Regions from separate parts of the Homo sapiens genome. Here all the other regions are linked to region 3. The links are contacts of gene promoters, found by promoter capture Hi-C in human tissues and cell types (Jung and others, 2019). All regions are on one chromosome and are shown on one strand. Each heading gives the region's core, a stretch centred on a gene start or on the middle of the fragment in contact. The rest is flanking DNA. Distances are from core to core; before and after follow the strand shown.

Region 1 (3,805 bases), core at 548-3,047, 36 kb after region 3:
GAATGCTTATGACAGTGGTGTGTTCTTTTTGTAAAAAACATATCAAGCTGTAAGCTTACCATTTTTGCACTTTTCTGTCTGTATGCTATTATACTTCCATACAAATTTTTAAAAGTATTGGTGGGTGTCGTAAAGTGTTTGAATCCTGATGTGATTTTCCTACAGCATTTTTTTTTTACAGCCTATAATTTGAGGTTTTGGTCCATCTCTTGCTTTCAGTGCATGAGATGAGGAACGTTAGTGACCCGTGTGGTTGTGTGGATTAATTTCTAAAACCTCACTTGGAACAGAGTGCTAACAGTTGCAAATGATTAGGAGTTTATGAAGTGCTTTAAAATACATCTTGGTAGTGTTTTAGGGTAAAGTTTTGTCAGTGTAATTTAGTTTTTAATTAATGAATGACTTCCCCAGATTGTTTTTTAAAAAAATACCGGTTTCACCATTTTTTTCCCCTAGAGGACCCTCTTAAATCATGTTTGGAATTTCATAAAAGAGAAAATGTCTGTGTGATTATTTGTTCTCCATAAGGTGGTAAATACATGGGCAGAGCTTTTAGAGGAAGTGATTTTATTGAGTAAAATGAGCCTCTAGGAGATGCTTTGAACTTACAACGAAGACATTCACAAATCATTACAGCTGCTTTCCAGAAAGCACAAATACTTATTACATATGCCTGGCTTAACCTGAATTTTAGATAAGTAACACAAAGGAGAAACAACAACAGAAAAACCCAACATGATCCGCATTTATTCAAACCCCACATGGCATGGTGCAGCCCCTCTGCTGTTATAATTGACAGGGTAGTTTAGGAAAGAATAATGCTCCCCTCTGACAGTTGCAGGGCCTGGTCTTATTTTCATTACACAGATTGGGGTTTAATGGGAAAATCCCACTGCAACTCTATCCTAATTAGATTCCTGGGTTTTGGGGTGAAAGGAATATTCAAGGTCCTTTTGTACAATCTGCCTATTTGACGGTAAGTGAAATGAAGCCCACAGAGGCTAAAGTGACCTCCCGAAGGCTGTATGCTGGGTTAGTGAAAAAGCTTGGCTGTGAACTTGGAGTTCTGGGCTTTTTCCAGGGACAAGGTGAAAGTCTAGCAGAGAGCTGGTCTCCGTGGAGAGGGTCGGGAAGTGATGGGAGCCTGAGGACCTAAAGCAGCTCAAGCTGTTTTCCAAAGCGAGGTAGGCTCACACTGGAAAGCTTGAGCATTCCAATCTGGCCTCCTTCACTGTTTCTCCTACAGCATATTCAGACTGGAGTATTGTATTAGTCCATTTTCATGCTGCTGATAAAGACATACCCGAGACTAGGAAGAAAAAGAGGTTTAATTGGACTTATAGTTCCACATGGCTGTGGAGGCCTCAGAATCATGGCGGGAGGTGAAAGGCACTTTTACATGGGGGCAGCAAGAGAAAAATGAGGAAGATGCAAAGGTGGAAACCCCTGATAAAACCGTCAGATCTCATGAGACTTATTCACTACCACGAGAACAGTATGGAGGAAACTGCCCCCATGATTCAAATTATGTCTCATCAGGTCCCTCCCATAACACGTGGGAATTATGGGAGTACAATTCAAGATGAGATTTGGGTGAGGACACAGAGCCAAATCATATCGAGTAGAGTTTGATTAAAATATCATTTTATTATTATTATTATTATTATTATTTGAGACGGAGTCTTGCTCTGTCGCCCAGGCTGGAGTGCAGAGGCGCGATCTCGGCTCACTGCAAGCTCCGCCTCCCGGGTTCACGCCATTCTCCTGCCTCAGCCTCCCGAGTAGCTGGGACTACAGGCGCCCACCACCAGGCCCAGCTAATTTTTTTTTTTGTATTTTTAGTAGAGACGGGGTTTCACCGTGTTAGCCAGGATGGTCTCGATGTCCTGACCTCGTGATCCGCCCGCCTCGGCCTCCCAAAGTGCTGAGATATCAGGTGTGAGCCACTGCGCCCAGCCTAAAATATAATTTTTTAAAAAGTAAAATATAAAGACATACCTATTGCTTGCATAATGCATATGTTCTGGAAAAATCTGTGGATTTTCTTCTTTACATCTTTCTCTACCAATTCAACTCAGTGCACTAGGTTTTGAGAGCCTGCCACTTGCCAGGCACATAGCTAGATGTTGGGGATTTGGCTGTGATCAACACTCTCTCTACTCTCATGGTGATGAACAAGGACAGATACTGAATCATCTTGAAGGGGAAATGCATGGCGTTGAGAGGTATGTAGCAGGGTACTGAAGCTACAGAGAAAGATCCAGCTAAGCCAGGAATGGCAGGAGGAGGTGGCTTTAGCAGGGGACATGCTGGGCTGGGGACAATGTCCCAGAAAATAAAGTATGATGTGCAAAGCTTGTATTCCAGAGACACAGTGTCACTGTCAAGGAGGCCTCTGCATCTTCATCCCTCAAGATCTGAACTGCTCAACCCTAGGTCTGTGAGCCAATAATTTTTTGTGTGTCTAATCTTTTTCAAACCACACTAAACATATTTCAGGAGACAAGTATAGCCAAAACACAATTATTATGCAGTGGTTTATCAGAGAAATACAAGGAAAATTTTACAATCTGTTGCTGTCCTCAAAGAGGCTTAGCCCCACTTTTCCATGTTTCTATCAGAATAGGATAGAATCACTGAGTATAGATTGATTAAAATAACATTTTTTAAAAAGTAAAATATAAACACTTTCCTATTGCCTGCATAATGCATATGTTCCAGAACAAATAGTAGAAAAATAAAATATTTCCTGTGTGAGTCACCTTTTCTCTAGACTGTACTGTTAGTGTCTTCAGCCTTTCTTTGAATCAGTTGTTTTCCAGATCATTCTCCACCTCACCCTCTGATCATTATAATGTGGATATAACTCAGAAACGGCCCCCACATTTCCCCTCTTCGGTTGTGGGGCGGGGGGGAAGACACAAACACAGAATTTAAAATTTAAATGTAAATGTAAATTAAATTAATTAATTGCTTATACAATAAGCAAATAAGTTAATTGCTTACTTTTGTAGTGGTGGGGGAAGATATGAACACAGAATTTTAAATTAAAATTTAATTAAATTTAAAAAATTAAAATTAAATTTAATTAAAAAAATAATTTTAATTTAAAATTCTGTGTTCATATCTTTTCCCCACCCCTACAACCAAAGAGGAGAAGTGTGGGGGCTGTTTGTGAGTTCCACAATATAATGATCAGAGGGTGAGATGGAGAGTGATTTGGAAAACAACTCATTCAAGGAAAGTCTGACGACACTAACACAGTATAGTCTAGAGAAAAGGTGACTCACACAGGAAATAATTTTATTGTACCAGTCAGGGAATTTTACTTCAACCAGCAGAAACTACTGCTGGCTGTCTTAAACCAAAGTGACATTAATTGAAAGGGAATTTGGGCTTGCACAAGTAGGGGTTAAAATTAGAGACTGGGGTGGAAGATTGGGTAGAAAGTAAGGGAAGTGTAGGCATGGTCAGGACCCAGGAAATGCCTCCTACAAATGCCACCAAGGTCTCCCAATATCCCCTCCATGTTTGTGGTACTTGCTCAAGTCCTAGACAAGTAAGCATCCTACTGTCTAAGGGTACATACTGGACCCTGTCTATGCAGAAGGAGGCAGAGGAGGCCAGCACTGGGAAACACCCTTATATCAAGACTGTACAATATAGGAATATACAAATTGGGAATGCAGCCAACAGTGGTTTGTTTTCTTGCTTATTTTTGTCCTTGCTTGTTCATTTTCTCTCTCTTGCCTCTGGGGTATAACCTCTTCAACAACAGGAACTTCATCTGTTGTCTGCCTCTGGA
Region 2 (3,448 bases), core at 11-2,510, 62 kb after region 3:
TGCTTTTGTTTGTTGGAGTCCTGGAGGAAACTGAATACATAGTCTAGAAGGTGCATCTTGGAAGCTTTGGACATCACTGAATTTTTCAGGGCAATATCTGTACCCTATATGTCTACCTTCCCAAGATTCTCTTTTAGGATTGCATCATCATCAATGAATTTAGTTGTGACTTATTCTTTCCCATCTGGACTTGAGTTCTATACTCTGCAGAGTGGAACCTTATAAATATGGGCCATGTGTGCATGCAAACGTAGCTTTGGGAGTGGAATCCTCCCATGCAGGGCTCTGATTGGGGTGGCCTGGGGAGTTGCTGGGGGTGGAAGGTGCTACATTTATGTCCCCCCCCCCACCCATTTTCTGGTGTCATCCACCGTACTTTTACATAATGTGATGGGACTCCAGCAGAACGTCACAGGAACTCCTGATACAGTGAGACCAAAACTACTCTGCCTCTCCCTCAGTGGAGGAGGCTAACACAATATATATATTTTATAGGGACAGGGTCTCAACGTGTTGCCTAGGCTGATCTCAGACTCATGGGCTCAGCAATCCTTCCACCTGGACCTCCCAAAGTGCTGGGATTACAGGCATGAGCCACGACACCTGGCAGCCAATATATTTAAAATTAAAAACACATACACCTTCATCCTAGAGATTCCACTTCTAGAATATTTTTTACTTGTTATTTACCACATTTTTAGTAGAAAAATATCTGAAACATCATGAATACATATTAACAACCCATTGATTTAATATATGGTCATTCTTTCCAGGCAGTGTCAAGTTGCCTTTAAACATATGTAGTAGAACTAGATCAGTTGATATGACAAATCTAAATGCTTAGAAGGTGCCTGAAACATATTATGTGTACAATAACTAATGGCTTTAGTTGTCATAAGAAAGAAAAATAAAAACACAGGTATATGGCTATATATTACATATATATCTACATGTATGTCTATATAAATGAATATATATCATTTATAGCTGTAAAACAACATAAAAATCCTTTTTATATGTGAATACATACATATGTATGATTAGGTGAACACAGAGAACATTGTGGATGGATACCATACCAGCTTGTGAATGATGAGATACCTGGAAGGGTGAAAAAGAGGGAACTGGAGGTAGGGGGAGAAAGACAAAACAGATAAAAGTGTCCAAAATAAAACATCTTTGAAAGTTTATATATGTAAATATACAGAGAAAGAAAGAGAAATGAAAAGCTGGTTATCAAACTATAAATGGTAATGAGGGTCTCAGAGTTTTTTCCTAAATTCTTTCTTTTTCTTTTCTCTACTTTTTGAATTTTCAGAAACACTGAACGTGTGTTATTCATATAGCTGGAAAATAAACGCTATTTTCGATTTTGAAAAAACAATATGAATAGTAAAGCTATCTCTCTGATCCTTTAACGATTAAGAAAGGCTGATGATGATGATGATGGTGATAGTAATGAGTGGCTAACATTATTTGCACACTTACCGTGTGTCTGACACTGTTGGGGTTTTAGAAGTAATAAGCATCTTTATTCTTTTAAGTATTTACAAATGCTTCCAATCCTAAAGCTGAAAAAACCCTCAGCTCTCTGACCCCAAATGCTCATTTCACATATGAAGGATTTGAATGAGGAGAAATGCAAGGACTTCCTTACTGATGTCTCCATTTGGAAGAGCTGAGTCTCCTGACTCACAGTTAGATGCTCATTCCACCACCTGTAAAGAACAATCCCTCTCTATCAGCACATTTGAAAACCACAATTCCAATCCAGGGACTTGGGAGTGTGTTACCATAGTCATTATTTTTATGAACTTATTTCTTTCTAATGCCCTATCAAAAAGAGAAAATGCTAAATTCTTAGAAACAACTGACTTGAAAGAGGAGAGTGAAGCTTTCTGAAATGATAGAAATGTTCTAAGTTGTGGCTGGGCACGGTGGCTCATGCCTGTAATCCCAGCACTTTGGGAGGCTGAGGTGGCCGGATCACTTGAGGTCAGGAGTTCAAGACCAGTCTGGCCAACATGGTGAAACCCCATCTCTACTAAAAATACAAAAATTAGCCAGGCGTGGTCGTGGGCACCTGTAATCCCAGCTACTAGGGAGGCTGAGGCATGAGAATCGCTTGAACCTGGGAGGCAGAGATTGCAGAGAGCGGAGATTGTGCCACTGCACTCCAGCCTGTGCCACTGCACTCCAGCCTGGGTGGCAGAACGAGACCCTGTCTCCAAAAAAAAAAAAGAAAAGAAAAGAAAAGAAAAGGAAATGTTCTGTTCTAAATTCTGATTGGGGTGGAACTTGCACAGGCATAACTTAGAGGTATAAAGCCATCAAGATGTATGTTTAAGAATTGTAAGTATTGTATCCTTCATCATATATGAATTATGCTTCCATAAAACACAGTTAAAAAGAGACATACTAGTTGGGGACACTGTCATATACATAGTTTCAAAAGAAGGTGTGTTAGCCCCTTCTTGCATTGTTATAAAGAAATATATGAGGCTGGGTAATTTATAAAAAAAGAAGTTTAGTTCCAAGTCTTTGCTATTGTGAATAGTGCCGCAATAAACATACGTGTGCATGTGTCTTTATAGCAGCATGATTTATAGTCATTTGGGTATATACCCAGTAATGGGATGGCTGGGTCAAATGGTATTTCTAGTTCTAGATCCCTGAGGAATCGCCACACTGACTTCCACAATGGTTGAACTAGTTTACAGTCCCACCAACAGTGTAAAAGTGTTCCTATTTCTCCACATCCTCTCCAGCACCTGTTGTTTCCTGACTTTTTAATGATTGCCATTCTAACTGGTGTGAGATGATATCTCATAGTGGTTTTGATTTGCATTTCTCTGATGGCCAGTGATGATGAGCATTTCTTCATGTGTTTTTTGGCTGCATAAATGTCTTCTTTTGAGAAGTGTCTGTTCATGTCCTTCGCCCACTTTTTGATGGGGTTGTTTGTTTTTTTCTTGTAAATTTGTTTGAGTTCATTGTAGATTCTGGATATTAGCCCTTTGTCAGATGTGTAGGTTGTGAAAATTTTCTCCCATGTTGTAGGTTGCCTGTTCACTCTGATGGTAGTTTCTTTTGCTGTGCAGAAGCTCTTTAGTTTAATTAGATCCCATTTGTCAATTTTGGCTTTTGTTGCCATTGCTTTTGGTGTTTTGGACATGAAGTCCTTGCCCACGCCTATGTCCTGAATGGTAATGCCTAGGTTTTCTTCTAGGGTTTTTATGGTTTTAGGTCTAACGTTTAAATCTTTAATCCATCTTGAATTGATTTTTGTATAAGGTGTAAGGAAGGGATCCAGTTTCAGCTTTCTACATATGGCTAGCCAGTTTTCCCAGCACCATTTATTAAATAGGGAATCCTTTCCCCATTGCTTGTTTTTCTCAGGTTTGTCAAAGATCAGATAGTTGTAGATATGCGGCATTACCCAAATGTC
Region 3 (3,631 bases), core at 14-2,513:
GCCAGCTGCTTTCCCAAGGTGAAAACCTCCAAGAGGCGAGATGCAAATCCCAGTGGCGTCCACACCCGGAGGTGTCTTCTCTCCAGGTCGCCCCTCCGTCTCATGCGACACCCCAATCCCCGCAGCCTCTGCTCAGCGTGGGACCAAGAATGGGGAGTCCTACCCCTCCTCGGCTTTCCAGCCCCCTAACCCAAGACAAGAGGGCGCGCGCCCGGGCTGGGACAGGTCCCAGCCGCATTTTCGTAGATTGCACTCCCCGCCCGGGAGCGACCCGTTCCAGCAGCCCCCTTCCCGCCCCATCAACGCGGCCGCACTGTCGGCGTCTAGAGGCGACATCCTGGCAAAGACAGGAATCAAGTCAGAAATTCAGGCTCTAGAAGCAAAGGCTGCGGTGCCTCCTGGCTGGAAGAAAACGGCGGGTGGGTGGAGGATGCGGTGCGCGGGAATTTCCCCACGGACGCTTGCTGTTTCCTGCTCACCTTTCAGGAAGGTGCCCCTCTACCTGCACCCTCCCCTGCAATTTGGAGCTCGTCCGCGAGCTCAGCTACCCGCTGGCTCCCTCTGCCCGCGCCCGCACACCACAGACTCCGCTTACCGTACCCTACCCGGTCCTAGAGGGCCCAGAGGGGATCTCCTGAAACCAACTCGCCTGCTTGGAGCCAGCCCCGACGCATATCTCGAGAGTGGCGGGAGGCAAAGCAGCCGGAATGCCCGAGAAAAAAGTGGGCGTCAGAGGCCCTTGTCCTAGCGACTCCCCCACCGCACCGACTGAGTCCCGGGACTGCAGGGATCTAAGCCCTTACCTGTCTCGGCGCCTCCTTTCTGTGCGCTCTGCTGCTCCGGAAGCCGGATCGAGAGTCACAGTGTGGTTGGGCGCAGGCGGGCCGCTCGGTTTTCACCTCGAGGACCCGGACTTGCACTTGCAGAGCCGCTGCGTGGGGGATGTCCCTCTTTTTTCCTCGCCCCGGCGGGCTCCTCCGGCGTGTCAGGGTCTCTGGGTTCCAGCTGGAGTTGGCGCTCCGGCCCCACAGCTCTTTCCAGCGTCTCGGACCTGTGCGCCCCGCCCCGCGCTGGACTCCGCCCCGGGGTCCCCGCCTGCCTCCTAGTCCAGGCCAAGGGTGGATGCCCAGCTCCCCCACCCCACCGCGTGCTCTCGGGCTGGTGCGTCCAGGGCGCGGGCACCGTAGCTCCGGCCGCGCTGACGCGAGTCCCCGGCAGCGGGGGCAGCCTCTCGCACGGATTTCAGCGCCTTCGCATCCCGTCTGAATCGGACCACACAGTAGCCGGGTTTCTACCGTGCGCTTGGGAACAGTGAGCACCGCCCTCTGCCGCCAGTCGTGGCACCGCACCCGGGTCGCGCGCGCAGGAGGGGAGAGTCCTGTCTTCCGGAGGTGCCCAGTGCCAGCGTCCGCGCCCACTAGAAGGTGACCCTTTCAAGGAAAGCCCGGCTCCGACGAGTGCGGTGTGGGCCTTTGGAGATGGCGGTGAAGGAGGAGGCCCCCAGGAGGAAGCTGGGGATGGGGACAGTTTGCTCTGCTCAAAGCCCCTGAAGTCCTCACCCAAACTTTGCGATGACCACCACTATCAGATTCCATGGCCGTATAAAGACAATCCCAGGAGTGCCTCAGCCCATCTGTCCGGAGAGTCTGGAGCCCTTCACTTTGCTTCTGACAGGTTCGAAATCCTCCCACGACCTTCCTGGTTAAACACAGGAACTGCCCATTCAAATGACTGGTGCCCAGGAAGCTCTGGGCATACAGGATTGAACCTGTGGCAGGACCCTGAAGGTCTAAAAAGGTGTTCCCCATCGTTAAACCCCAGCCAGCGGATTATTGGCAGGTGGGAACATGGACTCCACTTTGTCAGAGCTTCCCATTGTTTTCAAGAGAATCTGGAATTCGAGAACTTTAAAAATAGTCTTTGGGTTCGTTAAAGCAAAAATCTTGTTTTGGTCAAAGAGAACCTGTCTCAGACTGAACACAGTCCACAAGGCTGCCAATTAAAAATTTTTGGATAAATGAACTTCAAACTCCTTCAGGTTGTGACATTCTGTGATTCTGCTTTTCCCACCTTACCTGGAACCTGACCCCACTCTCCCTACCTCTTAGCATCTCTCCCGCATGATCAAAGGCAAGAGAGCCAGCTGTTTGCTTTCCTCCTGGGGAGGGGCTGCGATTGGGCAGGTGTTCTACATGCTCAGGGCAACTTCCAGATATGGAGGCAAAAAAGCTCTGTTGCTTGAGTGGGGGAGATGATGGGGTGGCCAGTTGTACGCCCTGGACACATTCTTTGCAATAGTGCATACTTACCAACTTCAGCTAGAGGCTTCTTCGCTCATGGACCATGCCTGCCCTATTCAATGGGGGCAAACAGACCCCTGGGACCATCTGCCCGCTGGTGCTTTCATGGAATCCTCTGAGATGAGTTAAGGCATGGTTGCTTCCACACAGATCTGGCGACCCACAGATGTCGCTGTAGTAACTCCAAGTCCTGACCACCCTCAGCAGAGTAGGAGCTTTTTCTGGGGATGGACATGTGGTCCCCAGGGAGACAGTGGGTGCTTAGAAAACAGTGCAACAGAGTGCTACGGGGAGTTGTCTTAGTTTAGGTTTCCCCCAAGGAGACTCCCAGACAAAGACCTGAGTGCAGGTAGTTTATTGGGAGCAGATCCCGGGAAGCACACACAGGGGGAGGGGAAGTGAGGCAGGGAAGGGAGAAGGGCCCATACACGATATGCTAACGAGCAGGGTGCCACTGCGGCTCACTCCAGTTGACCTGCAGACCGTGTAGAACATGCCTCATGGTTGTTCACAGCAGCGCGGGGAGGCTGGACATTCAGCCATCGATTCCTACCCCCTACTGATGGACAGATTCCCTGAGAGCCAGAATTTCCCTCACTTTTGAGTTGTGTCCCGGTGTGGTGCAGAAAGCCCAAGGCTGAAAAGAAGAGAGCTTCAGGCCTTGGATGGGAGGTGTCATGGTGCCTGGAACTGCATCTGCAGGTGAGCAGAGGAGATTCTGGGCAGGCCGTCACTCTCACATCTGCTACAGGAGGGCAGCAGAGGGGACATTGCCTTTGATGAGGCGGGCAGGAGCCATACTTCTGCTGGAGTTCATAGACTGAACTGGGTGTGAACCCAGAGAAACTGGGTGGGCTGAGTGGGATTTTGAGAGGGGCTGGAGACTTTGCATTATATACTTGGAGGCAACTTACATCCCCACTTGGGCTCACAAAGCTGGCAAGAACTGGGGAAATGGAGATGACTTCCCCTTCTAGTCAAAGAGATTTCTCTAATTGCAAGTCCAAAGTCTCTTCTTGTCTCTGAAAGAGTTTTCTGTCTGAAGTCTTTCTGGGTGAGGGAGGCTTAGCTGAACTACATGATAAAGTGCTGAGGGAGGGGAAAAGGGAAAGGGGAGGAAAGAAAATCCATGCAGGCAGGAGTTGCTGCAGAGCCTCAGGGGAGGCATTATCTACAAACAACTGGATGTGAGGAAAATGGATGAGGTAAGGATACTTTGATACAGAGCCAGAAGATTATATGTTTGAATCCACTCAAGAGACACGAATAATAAAAATTTAACAGGTATAATATTTCGACAACATTAAATCTGAATGTTTTTTGTTATTTCC

Evidence for each region. Contacts are between HindIII fragments. The study calls those that stand out against the background at their distance.
Region 1: a contact is called between a fragment that was not itself captured here and the fragment with the promoter of PROKR2 in region 3, in 7 of the 25 tissues and cell types used here (H1 embryonic stem cells, aorta, heart right ventricle and 4 more).
Region 2: a contact is called between a fragment that was not itself captured here and the fragment with the promoter of PROKR2 in region 3, in 3 of the 25 tissues and cell types used here (aorta, pancreas and stomach).

The regions. Positions count from the first base shown.
Region 1 is chr20:5,351,023-5,354,827 of GRCh38, forward strand. No RefSeq gene overlaps it. Among named protein-coding and RNA genes, the nearest start is that of PROKR2, 36 kb to the left of the region's middle. The HindIII fragment of the contact is 4,632 bases long and covers 1-3,805 here.
Region 2 is chr20:5,377,544-5,380,991 of GRCh38, forward strand. No RefSeq gene overlaps it. Among named protein-coding and RNA genes, the nearest start is that of PROKR2, 62 kb to the left of the region's middle. The HindIII fragment of the contact is 3,338 bases long and covers 1-2,929 here.
Region 3 is chr20:5,315,691-5,319,321 of GRCh38, forward strand. It overlaps PROKR2 (prokineticin receptor 2), which reads right to left and starts at 1,264. Exons shown (of 3, transcript NM_144773.4): 1 at 804-1,264. The HindIII fragment of the contact is 13,355 bases long and covers 1-3,631 here.